Regions from separate parts of the Homo sapiens genome. Here all the other regions are linked to region 2. The links are contacts of gene promoters, found by promoter capture Hi-C in human tissues and cell types (Jung and others, 2019). All regions are on one chromosome and are shown on one strand. The core of a region is centred on a gene start or on the middle of the fragment in contact, and the rest is flanking DNA. Distances in the headings are between cores, read along the strand shown.

Region 1 (3,251 bases), core at 249-2,748, 730 kb after region 2:
GATGTATTAGAACAGATATGTACTTTTAAAATGATCTCCTATATAACTGATTTCCTTTTATAAAAGGAATCACTGAGAACTGTTTCTGATCTTGTTCCTAATTTTATTTCTTCTAATGTGAAAATGCCTATCAGGCATTTCTTATTGAAAACTAAAATAATGTCCTTGCCAATCCCAGAAGAGGAGAAAGGAATAACTCCTGGGGAGAAAGAAGGGGGAAGAAGAAGGTGTGAAGAGTGTTGAAGTAAAGGAATGCTGTTTTGGCATCTCATCCATGTCGGTGACAGCAGGTGCCACAGAGGAAAAGACAACCAAATAAAGGGCAAGGAAACCAGGAGAGCAGACACAAAGGGGGAAACAGATCCCTCTGCCCTGTGCCTCATTAATCTTGTCAAAAATACTTGCTGCTGAGAAATGCTAATCTTCTCACTCCCCAGAGTAGCCTCCCTCACAAGAATGTTTTAAAGGCCTGGTATATCTAATGACTGAGCCATTTAATAAATTACTTACTTACGTTACTATAAAAGCTAGTCCAGCAGCTGTAACCTACATGTAAAGCACTAAATCCTTTTACCTGATTTCTAAAGGTTTCTCTAAATCATATTTAGTGACAGGGTGAGGTACACAGGAATCAGGATTTAGTGGCAGGGCATACCTCATGCTGTTTCGAGTAGGTCAGGAGGTCTGACTTGGATTTCTTCCCAGTAACCTGATCTAGGTGAATCAGCAGGTTATAAATGAAAGTCAGTTTCTAAGATCTCCTGACTTTCTTCAACTATCAGGAACTTTATAGGAACCTGGTGAGAAACAGGAAAAGACCAAGAGATAATAAATAACATTGACCAATATTATGGTATTGCAATTTCTCTTTCCTAATACAATGTAAAATGTAGTGCCATTTTTGGACAAGCTAATTATTTGTATAGATTCCTGAGTTTGTTATTTTTGTTAGCCTGAATAAATATCTAAATGATTGGAAAATGTTTAAGAGCTGAAAGCCTTTTCTAGGTCACAAAGTATAACATTAGATAGTGGTTCTTCCAAGGGCAGGTTCTAATACTTTCATATGTTTCTATCACTCATTATATGAAAATTCCTCATTTTAAACCCTCACTTTAAATCACAGGAAGGAAGACAAGTTAGAAAAGGAGAACAAAGGAAACAAAATGTATTGGAAGACTTGTCACATTCAAAGTATTGACATTCATTGCCTAGCTTCATTCTCACGGCAACTTTTGGACGAATTAAACTTCTGCTCAAAGACAGTCACAATAGCTATAATAAAATTAGTGTTTGATTCTAGCTTTGTCTAATTGCAAAGCCTGAACTGGAGGTAAATGTCTGGTGTAAGCAAACTTCCACTGCCCCTTAAACCATACCTCACTGATAATTGTCTCTTGTCCTACCCATAGCCTGGTTCTGCACCACTTTCTGCACCAATTTATGTCGTATTTCTAAAGGTTATTTTTCCCTTCTTTATTACTATTTTCAGTTAAAAGATTTCTCAGTTAGCATGGCTTAGTAAATCAAGAACTTACATCTGTACAATCTCAGAGAAACCCAAGGGCATCACAAGCACCACTAGTGACATGTTTCCTTCATTGTAAATGGGCAATAGCACTTGCTGTTTTTGAATGCCATGAACACATTGGGAATATTCAGCTACTTTGTGGGTCAATATAGAAAAATTATATTAAATATGAAGAAACGGTCCCAATTTTCTCATCATATTGAAATGCCAATAATTATAATAGCTCACAGATATGTTATGAGGATTGACAAAGTACCACATGGAAAGCGCAAAAGGCAGCTCACAGCTTAGGAAAAGTGTTAAGTCAATACTAGCTTTTATTAATGATGTTTTTATACTTATGAGTAAGATTATTGGGTTCCTATTCTCTAAGAGTTCACTAGCTCCAGAACCACACAGTAAAATGCTTCCTCTCTTTATGTCCCTTCCAATGTCAATTTCACTGCTTCTGTTCTATATTCCAGAAGTGTGATTGGTGATTAATGAAGTAAATATAAGAATAAGCTCTAGATGATAAGAAACTGGTTATATTTGCAAATACAGCCCTCAGTAACCTGTATACTTATAAATAACCTGAGATTTCTGCCCCCATATGTACCAAAACAGTAACTGAAATATAGTTTCTACACACTCACCTCCCAACCCTTTCTTATCCTGTAAAATAACTAAACAGGAGACTGTATGATCATAGCTGAATAATAAGGCTCTGCCTGTATCGGTTACCTTTTTCTGAAGGTCCTAAGGTCCTAATGTGTTTCAGGAATGTCTACCTTTGACCTTGCTAGTCCATACTCTGAAACGTCTAATTTTATTTTTATGCTTTTTGTGTACTAGGGTGAGGGCAGGCAGGTAAAGGTTAGGTTGTGTGATATTCAGAGGCTGGAAACTGAAACCCCCTGTTTCTCACAGCACAGATGTGGTGCAGACAGCCCGGGCCTCTACATTTCCTCGCTGTGCCCTAAAAATGACCTTAACCCTGACATAGAAAGAGAAGCAACATCACTGTGAAAGGCTGTTGCTGGCTGGCTGTGTGAGAGGGAGCAGTTTTCTGAGTGTGGGGCTGTGTCCCATTGGCCTCTCCTGTGTCATAACACTTCCAGTCTCTCCAAGTTGACCTGGATCCTCTGAAGCCAAAGAAAGGTCAAAGTTAATTCTTTGTGCCCATCAAACTCATTTTATGAGTTGTTTTTTTCCATGAACCAGTGGGAAAATGATTCAAATCAATACTTTCTCTTCAATCTTAAAATATATTGGAAATAATTGTTTTCTTTTGGGGTACTTTTCCCAAACAACCTCTGCCTTTCTACCTTTTGCTTTATTCTAATAAATAAATAAAAATATATGCATATATATGTATACATGTTCATATATACAAAATAATCAAACCAAAACAACAATCACCTCGACAAACTGTGTTTCCTTTGAATTGCTTATTTTTATATATTTCATATCTTAACAATTGTAAATCTAAATGATAATAAAAAATATATTTTTAGCTTCTTTAAAGATTTCAAATTCTTGTTTTTCTTCTCCATTTAAGACAGATGTTTATTTTTATATGATGTCTAGGTTTTATAAAGTCCAGGTAAGAGGATGCTTTCATTTTTTCTTTCTATATTTCTCATGATAGAATAATGGAAAGTGATCAAACCGGGAAATGGAAGAGTTTAAGCAAACGGAATTTTTTTACCAAATTATTAAAACAACATGGACAGGTTTT
Region 2 (3,536 bases), core at 375-2,874:
AGGCATGAAAATCAGCAATTCTTTGATATTCTCTATAAAGTTGCCCCATCAAAATTCCATATTAATTTTGCTGAAGATTTGACAAGTTCTGGGGATGGGGCATATCAAGTACTGCACATCATTTCCCCAACATCTCATTGGTTTTCTGTCCCAACCTTGGCCTCTCTTCTCAAATAGTAAACAACTTTTCTTGTCTCAAAGTACTTTTACCCCCTTTTCTGAAGTTTTGGGGTCAAGAGACAGCTATGCTTCTCAGAGTCACTTAGCACAAGTGAACTTGAGACATATTCCTAACAAAAACAGATCTCTTGCTAACAAAAATTCTCATGTGATTTTCTTAAGAAAAATGTCAAGTGCCACTTATTGGCCCCATTCAATATGCCAGATGTTATATTCAACACTTTATGAACATTATTCCACTTAATCCTTGTAACAATCCTTTGCAGGAGGCAGTGTGTTTTTCCATTTTTAAAAGAAAACTCAAGCTCGGAGAGGTTAAGAGCATATACATGGTAAATGGTGGAAGTGAGGTTTGAATCTAATATTGACACCACAGCCTATGTTCTTAATCACTACCACTGCGCATCAACTACGTTTCTGGCACATGCCGCTGGGGATATGCCAGATACATACTCTTTTGCACCTTGTACAATACCACAGAGAAATGCAAAATAAATAATTTTTAATAGGGCAAAGGGCTCGGTACTCTCAAAAGCAGAAATAGCCCAGAGGGAGGGCTTGAGCCCGTAATTCTAGCACTTTGGGAGACTAGGGTAGGAGTATCCCCTGAGACCAGGAGTTCAAGGTTACAGTGAGCTATGATTGCGCCACTGCACTCACCTGGGTGACAGAGCAAGATTGTCTTAAAAAAAAAAAGTCACATATATACATAGAATATGCAATTAAAATATATTTCATAAACTATCTGCTATGAAATCTGTGCCAGTGTGAGCTTTCTCCAAGTTTTAATTTATGGCTGGCTGTGGATTTAGTCCTGAGTCTAACAAATAACACAACCTAATAATTATTGCCTACTTTGAGGAAGATATTCTTTTGGTTTTTGTTAAGAATAGAGTGAACCATAAAAGATTATATCAGACCTCAAGAGTTTATTATAATTGGGTTATAAGGCATGTGCTCTCGAAAAGTTGTTACATAAATACGAAAAATATACTGTTAAATGACTGGCCCAACTAAATCAGTTCCCAAAGCTGTGCTGGTTAGACAAACCTACAAGGAAATGGTGAAATTTCCAAGGAAATGGTGAAATTTCAGTCCAATTTTGAAGAACAGGTTTTGAAGGGCTGTAGAGAAAGCTGGAAGCACACTCCAAGTGGAACGATAACTTGGAAATATACTGTCTTATTATCACAGGCTGCTCCTGAAAGCCACGCGTCCCCGCTCACCAGCTACCAGCGCTGGGAGACCCCTAACCACCAGGCATTCACAGGTGAGGAAGCCCCTCCCACAGCGGCCGGAGTTTCGGACTCGGAGCGCGAGAAACGTCGGGATAGCGCCTGCCTCGCAGAGCTTCCGCTTCCGGCCCTTCAGGCTCTGTCTCTGTGGAGACTGGGCTTTGGGAGGGAGAAAGAGGGACCTAGCGCGGGCCGCGCAGGCGCACGGTGGGCAGCTGCAATGGCGCTGTCGTGTACCCTTAACAGGTATCTGCTCCTCATGGCGCAGGAGCATCTGGAGTTCCGCCTGCCGGTGAGTCCGTAGCGCCCTCCGGAACTTCCGACGGAAGAGGACGCTGGAGTGGAGTGGAGTGGGTGGAGGTGATCTGCATAGCCCGAGGAAGCTGGGATTCGGGGGTCTTCGCTGGTCTGCGCGGGTCACGCGTCCCCAGTCCTCGGGCGGGGTGAGCTTGGCGGAGGGTGTGTGTGAGAGAAGTCCGAGACCAAACCCCTCGGCCTGCTTAAACTTTTCATTCTTTTGCCCGTGTATCAAGTACCGGAGTTAGGCAGGTGAATATGACCGGTCATCTCACTCCCGGAGCTCTTCGTCTAGCGGAGAATAGAGACAGCTAACAAATGCTCAGGCTGGTGTTTGAAGTATTGGAATCTGCGGATCAAGCTCAGTGGAGGGGATGGTGGTGGGGATTAGATGATGGAGAAGTTGAGAAGAGTGTTTTATTTATTCAAGAAACGTTTTCAGAATGCATGTAGTCGAAGATCGGTACGCTGGGCATGTAACGATGATGTAAGCAATCTCTGCCCTCTAGGAGCTTACTGTTTAGAGTAAGGGCTGAGCAGACACATAGGCGTAGAATGACAAAAGAGCGTCGGTAAGTGCAGTGATAGATGCACATGGAAATATGAGAGCACGTGGAAGGGAAATCTAATCTACCTGAGGGGTTGGGGATGTTGGCCTTTAAGAGGGCTTCCAGAGGAGATGACACTTGAAATAAAGGATGAATAGGAGTTAGAGGGCCAAGGAGATAAATCAGTAAATTAGAATTACAAGGTGTTCATTATTACTGGATCACTAGTTATGTGGCAGAGTGGTAAGAAGAGAGCAAGGGAAGTAGATCGAGGCCAGAAAATGAAAACCTTGAGTACCCTGGAGCTTGGAAGGGGGATTTATTGAAAAGCCTTAAGTAAAAAAGTGACCACAAAATTAAATCAGTTTGACAACACTATGGAGGATGGATTTGAAAAGAATAAGACTTGAGCCAGAGACTAGGAGTCTGTGGGAATAGTCTTGTTAATAGATTAAGAAGGTCTGACCTAGGGCAAGGAGTAAGAGGATGGGATAGACTGGGAAAATATTTAGGCCATACAGTCATTAAGGCTGGATTGATTGAATATGTGGGAAAGGGGCACCAGTCAGGTATGACTCCTGGGGTGTATATAGGTAGGAGTGTCTCCATTTAAAATAGAGAACATAGGCAGATGTAAGATTTAAATTTTGTTTACACTGAATTTGATGTGGTTGTGTAACATCAACCTGAGATGACCAAGAGGCGGTGGATATATGAATATGCATAGAGTATGGCAGAGTGATCTGGACTAGTGATAAATATTTGGGAGTCTTCTTCATATGAAAACTAGGAGCGGGGAAGAAATTACTCAAAGGATAAGGTCAAAAGAGTAGCGGGCCAAGTATAGATGCTTGGAAGCATTGATATTAAGGGAAAGTCGGAGGAGGCCATGAAGAAGATGGGCAAGTGCCAGAAGGATGTGAGACCGCAGAAATCAGAAGGGTAAAGTTTTAGGAAGCAGGGACAAATGGATAAATGTCGAATGCAGTTGCTTTTTAGTGAGAAAAGAATGAAAAAGTGTCATTGATAGTCTCAATTAGAAGATAATTAATTGGTGATTTTTGCTAAAGCGAATATGTTGAGTTTTAGTAGGAGAAGCCAGGTGGCTTGGTTTAGTAATCACTGGAAAGTGAGGAAGGGGAGATAGGATAGACTGAGTGTCCTTAGCTAGAGCATAAGGGAAAGTAAGAAATTGGTTAACAGTTTGAAGAGGACCTAGGGTGAAAGGAGGATTCTCCCCATGGAGAGAATGAGATTGAGCTTGAGTGTATTTGTA
Region 3 (3,273 bases), core at 18-2,517, 570 kb before region 2:
AAAAGTAAGCTTGCTCTCTCTTACACAAGTTGAGCATTTCTGTTCTGAAAATCTGAATTCAAAATGCTCCAAAATCCAAGAATTTTTGAGCACTGACGTGACGCCAAAAGTGAAAAATTTTACACCTGATCTTCTATCATGGCTCACAGTCAAAACACAGTCAAAATTTTGTTTTCTGCACAAAATTATTTAAAATATTGTATAAAATTACCTTCAGGTTGTGTGTATAAGGTGTATATGAAACAGAAATCTCAGTTTTCTTTTCTGAATTTAACTAAGAGTAATACTCAGGTACTTGATATTTGTTTTAAAAACAAATGAATAAATGGGTTAAAAATTGGTAGCTTTGTCCTAAAAACAAAAACAAAAACAAAAACAAAACTCCTATACATAAATAAGACAGCACAGCCATGTTAGCCAGAGCTGTCCTTCACATCATGTTTTTAGTCACAGGTCTTCATAGAATTCTTACTCTTCTCATAAAGAATTTTCTGAGATTGCAAAATGTAAATAGCTTGGTCAGTGTATTAGTGCATTTTCATGCTGCTGATAAAGACATACCTGAGACTGAGCAATTTACAAAACAAAGAAGTTTAATTGGACTTACAGTTCCACGTGGCTGTGGAAGCCTCACAATCATGGCAGAAGGCATAAAGGAGCAAGTCATGTCTTACATGGATGGCAGCAGGCAAAAAGAGCTTGTGCAGGGCAACTTTCCTTTTTAAAACCATCATATCTTGTGAGACTTATTTGTTACCACAAGAAGAGCACAGGAAAAACCTGTTCCCATGATTCAATTACCTCCCACTGGCTTCCTCCAGTAACACGTGGGAATTTAAGATGAGATTTGGGTGGGGACACAGCCAAACCATATCAGTCAGTAACATTTATTCAAAGCCACAAATCATAGAGTAATCCAGGGCAGAAGAAAAGAAAATAGATATAAAGGTTGACCTCAAGGTTCTTAAGAGCCAACAGGATATCTAAACCTACTGTGAAACATATATGTTAATAGATAGAGATATAAGAATATATGTGCTACGTATAACAAGGTCAAGGTTTATGGAGTGAAGGACATGAGTGTTGTAGAGGGATAGGGAGGTTGTCAATGCAATAGAATGACCATAGGACCATATCTTCTGACTAAAGTGTGGTTCCTATTGGACCTCATGGTGTGCCCACATTTTTTGGCATCTCTCCTAGCTCCCTACCTCTTCGCTCCCGTTGCAATCACATTCATCCATACTTCCTGAGCTGCACATGTCTAGATTGAAACAAATGTTTCCATGTAGCAAACACACAGAATTCTCCCATAGGCAAAAAAGTACTGAGGTGTAATTAATGTCTTTTCAGACTATTGTCTGTATTTCCTTGAGCCCTCAGACTGATTGTCCTGTTCTAGTTCTAAGCCAAGGAGATCAGACTTAGATTAGGTTGAGTTTGTGTTCTTGGCTGCCAAGTACATCATTCTCCCTCATGTCTCTCTCTTTTTTTTTTTTTTTTTTTTTTTAGATGGAGTCTCGCTCTGTCGTCCAGGCTGGAGTGTGGTGGTGCAATCTCTGCTCACTGCAACCCCCACACCCCTGGTTCAAGTGATTCTCCTGCCTCAGCCTCCCAAGTAGCTGGGACTACAGGCGCATGCCACCATGCCCGGCTAATTTTTTGTATTTTTAGTAGAGACGGGGTTTCGCCATGTTAGCTGGGATGGTCTTGATCTCCTGACCTCGTGATCTGCCTGCCTCGGCCTCCCAAAGTGCTGGGATTACAGGTGTGAGCCACCACACTCAGCCCCTCATGTCCTTTCTATGAACCATCACATTTTTCTATGATGGGATATTCTGAGCAAATATGGCATTGTGGAGAAGAGACTATTTATTATAAGCACTGCATTTGGCTTTGTCCTACAGAAAAGAAATGACCAGAAGAATATAATAATTAGGTCAGAATGTCTTGTGATCAAAGTTGCATTATTGATACTTAGGACAACACCAAATCTTTGAACTAAGAAACTAGTTCATAGATTCAATGTCTATGACTAACTGTATTGCATCAACACCAATTAGTCATCTAACTTACTTTATTAAATGGGTCAGAAATGAAATATAAACAAAAGAAACATTTTTTAACTGTAAAACACCATGAAAACCACAAGTCAGCCTGTGATTCTCTTGGTAAACAAGGCAAAGACATTTTTTTCTTTTCTTTTTTAATATTTTGCCGGAGGGAATCCTAAGAGGTCATCTACTTCATTCTTTTTCTTTCAAGCAAGACCCATTCTAGCTATCTCTAAATAATAGAGAAGTCTTATCATATCTTATTCTTTTTTTATTAATTTATTTAGCTAAAAAGTTTTGGAGCATCTACTAAATGGCAGGCATGCTACTAGGATTGGAGCTAACAAGATAAAAAGAAAAGGAAAACATGATGTTTACCCATGAGGAAGTAGTTTAGTTAGGAAAGACTGGCTTGGGTACTTAAATTCCTTAAGCAAAATGGGGAAAGCAAGAGGATGCATAAGTTTGAGGGAGAAGAAAACATGTGGGTTTAATGGTATTGGGCTTGAGGCGCCCATGGAGGGGCCAGTAGGCTATGTGGGCCTGGAGAAGTTCTGATCTAAAAATACAGATATAGGAGTCACTTTCAACAGGGTTCTTAAAGCTGTGAGGATAGGAAAACCACATAAGAAGCCCACCTAGAATGAAAACCAGTCTTAGCAAAGGTGCTTCTTAGAAACCCAATTCAGCATTGTTATTATTCTGACAGTCCTGGTTACCTACCCATGTCTATCATCACTCTTTTAAGAATCATCCTCTCAGCCAGGCGCAGTGGCTCACACCTGATTTCCTAGCACTTTGGGAGATAGAGGCAGGCAGATCACCTGAGGTTAGGAGTTCGAGACCAGCCTGGCCAAAATGGCAAAACCCTGTCTCTACTGAAAATACAAAAATTAGCCGAGCATGGTGGTGTGCGCCTGCAATCCCAGCTACTCGGGAGGCTGAGGCAGGAGTATCGCTTGAACTCGGGAGACAGAGGTTGCAGTGAGCCAAGATCGCACCATTGCACTCCAGCCTGGGCAACAAAGTGAGACTCTGTCTCTAAAATGAAAAAGAAACAACAACAACAAAAAGAACCATCCTCTCCCTCAGACTTGATGAAAATAAGAAAATATGAGCGTATAGATGCACAGCTTGAAATGCCCAGGGTGGACGACCTTGAAGTTTGGCTGGATCGAAGTGCTAAAACACTGTAGTTAGGACTTGGCCTCTTTGCATC
Region 4 (3,440 bases), core at 18-2,517, 810 kb after region 2:
TCAACTGGCACCCCATTTTGACAAATACTACATCTTATGACAGCCAGCTCCAACGTCACTATGGCATAAGAAAGTAAAAACACTGGGGAAAAAAAGAAAATTATAAATTAACAGAAAGATGATGAATTTCAATTGTTCCATTCATTCTTCATGTATTTGTTCATGTCTATATTGAATAAATATTTTTTGAGTCCTTACCCTGTAGGAGGCACCATGCTAAGCTCTGACTATAGAGGACTGCACAGGACCAACACGGTCCCTGCAGTTATGGAGCTTACATTGTAGAAGGGGAGGCAGATAGTCAGGTAATTTTAAATTAGGATATTTATGCTCTCTAATTAATATCCCATTAGCCTGACTTAAAAGAGTAGGAAATAATCATGAATAGAAGGATGTTATGAAGGGTAAAGAAGAACACAATCAAGGGAAACAACAGGGACAATAGCCTTCCAGTGAAAAGGAGCAGAAAGAAGACCTAAGAACCTGGTGTGAGGAGAGCAAGGGAAGAGAGGCCCATGTTGAAGCAAGAGCCAAATGTGACAATGCATGTCCATGCGGGCTGTTGGGTGTGTAGGGATTTGTGTTTTATCCGAAGAGCCACTGGAAGTCATTCCAATAAACCTTAAAAATATTGTTTTGGTAATACATATTACTGGAAGTAGAAATAAAATGGGATAGTTTAAGATGTGTCTCAAAATGTCAGATATAGGTTATGGTGGTCATAGTATGAAAAGATAACAATATGGCCAGGCGCAGTGGCTCACGCCTGTAATCCCAGCACTTTGGGAGGCCGAGGCGGGTGGATCACGAGGTCAGGAGTTGGAGACCTGCCTGACCAACATGGTGAAACCCCATTTCTACTAAAAATACAAAAATTAGCCGGGCTTGGTGGTGGGCGCCTGTAATCCCAGTTACTCAGGAGGCTGAGGCAGGAGAATCTCTTGAACCCGGGAGGCGGAGATTGCAGTGAGACGAGATAGCACCACTGCTCTCCAGCCTGGGCAACACAGTGAGACTCTGTCCCCCCAAAAAAAAAGAAAAGAAAAGAAAAGAAAAGAAAAGATAACAATACTTTTTATGAAAAGGAACTTCAAGTAGATTAAAATATATTTACTCTAAAGTTTAATATGCCATAAAATGCAAAAGATTCTTTTATCTTTCACTGTTTCGAAAGGGAAGGTGGTTTAGTGTCACAAGGCCCTCTGAAACTGAAGTGACTAATAAATTGTGGGGATTAATTACTCACTGGAAAGAAAATGTGGAAAATGCAAACTTCATTGGCTTCATATCAAAGCCACATTTCAACAACACATGGATAAACAATGGATAATGAAAATCTTTTATATAACTCCTTTTCTCTTCTACATTATATAATAATTTTCTACCGACTATACCTTAACTTTTAACCTTGATTTTACCACTAATATACACAAACATTTATCTGCACTTTTTTCTTTTTAGATAACTTTTTTAGAGGAAGCAGTTTTCAGTTATATCGAGACAGCATATTAAAATTCTTTTTGCAAATTTCTATCATAATTTGCATATTCAATAAAAATCTAAGCAGTAAATCTATTCCAATTTTTTCCCCATTCTCTGTGAACAAGAATGTTTTCTCATTGTCTTAGCTGTTGTTTTTTAATTTGGGCCATCTTTATGATGAATACCAAATAATGAATAATTGCTTCCATAGACGTTTCCATTATCTCAAGAATTCTGAGAGCTTGAGATAATTTCCCAGCCAAGAATATTGGGGTGTGAACCCTGAATATCAGAGACAGGTCGCAGTTAATTTAGGAAGTTTATTTTGCCACGGTTGAGGACACACACCCATGACACAGCCTCAGGAGGTCCTGACAACATGTGCCCAAGGTGGTCAGAGCAGTTTAATGTTATACATTTTAGGGAGAAGTGAGACATCCATAACATATGTAGGATGAACATGGGTTTGGTCTGGAAAGGCGAGGCAGGGGCTTCCAGGTCATAGGTAGATAAGAGACAAATGGTTGCATTCTTTTGAGTTTATGATTAGCCTTTCCAAAGGAGACAATGTGATATGCGTTTATCTCAGTGAGCAGAGGGGTAACTTTGAATAGAATGGAAGGCAGTTTTGCCGTAAGCAATTCCCAACTTGACTTTTTCCTTTAGTTTAGTGATTTGGGGCCCCAAGATTTATTTTCCTTTGTCTGAGGTTACTTGGCCAGAAGGTAGGAATGGCAAAATCAAGGCAGAAATTGAGTGAATGAAAAGTCAGCAAAGAAAAGCAGAGCTTATAGAAACCAGTAGATAGAGAGAAAAGTAGATGGCAAAAGTTAAAAGCAGGTGGTAAAATATAAGGCATAAAATTATCATTAAGGAGATAGTCAGAATCACAGAAACACAATGCCAGAAACAAAAGGGTCTTAAAAAGAACTTGATGCTGGCAACAAAAGCAAATGTAAACAAGAGGAACTATATCAAATAAAAGGCTTCTTCACAACAAGGGAAATAATCAACAAAATCAAAAGGCAACCTATAGAATGGAAGAAAATATGTGCAAACCATGTGTCTGATAAAGGGTTAATAACCAAAGTATATAAGAAACTCACCCAGCTCAAGCGCAAAAAAAATACAACCTAATCTAAAAATGGGCAAAAGACCTTAATAGACATGTTTCCAAAGAAGACATACAAATGGCCAACAAGTATATAAAAAGGTACTCAGTATTACTAATTTTCAGGGAAGGGGAGTTAAAAACCACAATCAGATATATCACCTCATCCTGTTACTAAAAAGACAAGAGATAAATGTTGGTGAGGATGTAGAAAAAAGGCACCCCTTGTGCACTGTTGGTGGGAATGTAAATTAGTACAGCCATTATGGAAAACAATATGAAGGTTTCTCAAAAAATTAAAATAGAATTACCATACAATCCAGCTATCTCACTTTTGGGTATATATCTAAAGAAAATGAAATCAGTATCCCAAAGAAAAATCTGCACTCCCACACTCATTGCAGCATTATTCACAGTAGCTAAGACATGGAAACCAGAAACTACCTGTATACATTGACAAATGAATTGATCAAGAAAATGTGATATACACACACACGTATTATTACTCAACAAAAAAAGGAGAAAATCCTGTTATTTGTGGCAACATGGGTGAACCAGCAGGACATTACACCAAGTGAAATAAGATAAGGTGGGCACAGAAAAACAAATACTACATGATTTTGCTTACATGTGGAATCTAAAAAAGTCAAATTCATACAATCAGAGAGTAGAATGGTCATTGCCAGGCACAGGAGGGTAGGAGAAATGGGGAGATGTTGGTCAAAGGGCACAGACTTTCAGTTATAAGATGAATTTATGAGATGAATAAGTTCTGGCATGCTACAATATACATAATGGTGACTATTAAAAAAAAAGAACTCCATGCCTCTTCTAGTTGGCAAGACAG

What was found. Contacts are between HindIII fragments. The study calls those that stand out against the background at their distance.
Region 1: a fragment that was not itself captured here is called in contact with the fragment with the promoter of TRMT11 in region 2 in 1 of the 25 tissues and cell types used here (lymphoblastoid cells).
Region 3: a contact is called between a fragment that was not itself captured here and the fragment with the promoter of TRMT11 in region 2, in 1 of the 25 tissues and cell types used here (thymus).
Region 4: a fragment that was not itself captured here is called in contact with the fragment with the promoter of TRMT11 in region 2 in 1 of the 25 tissues and cell types used here (mesenchymal stem cells).

What each region holds. Positions count from the first base shown.
Region 1 is chr6:126,716,678-126,719,928 of GRCh38, forward strand. The region is part of intron 3 of LOC105377992 (a long non-coding RNA gene); the gene reads left to right. LOC105377993 (a long non-coding RNA gene) reads right to left here and starts at 733. Exons shown (of 3, transcript XR_001743837.2): 1 at 656-733. RefSeq lists enhancers at 2,179-2,258, 2,269-2,408 and a silencer at 2,489-2,598. The HindIII fragment of the contact is 7,584 bases long and covers 1-3,251 here.
Region 2 is chr6:125,984,916-125,988,451 of GRCh38, forward strand. It overlaps TRMT11 (tRNA methyltransferase 11), which reads left to right and starts at 1,625. Exons shown (of 13, transcript NM_001031712.3): 1 at 1,625-1,707. The coding sequence starts at 1,636. RefSeq lists enhancers at 848-1,678, 1,656-2,145, 1,679-2,508. The HindIII fragment of the contact is 9,309 bases long and covers 1-3,536 here.
Region 3 is chr6:125,414,031-125,417,303 of GRCh38, forward strand. The region is part of intron 1 of LOC102723341 (a long non-coding RNA gene); the gene reads right to left. Among named protein-coding and RNA genes, the nearest start is that of HDDC2, 110 kb to the left of the region's middle. The HindIII fragment of the contact is 8,096 bases long and covers 1-3,273 here.
Region 4 is chr6:126,796,945-126,800,384 of GRCh38, forward strand. No RefSeq gene overlaps it. Among named protein-coding and RNA genes, the nearest start is that of MIR588, 310 kb to the left of the region's middle. The HindIII fragment of the contact is 6,690 bases long and covers 1-3,440 here.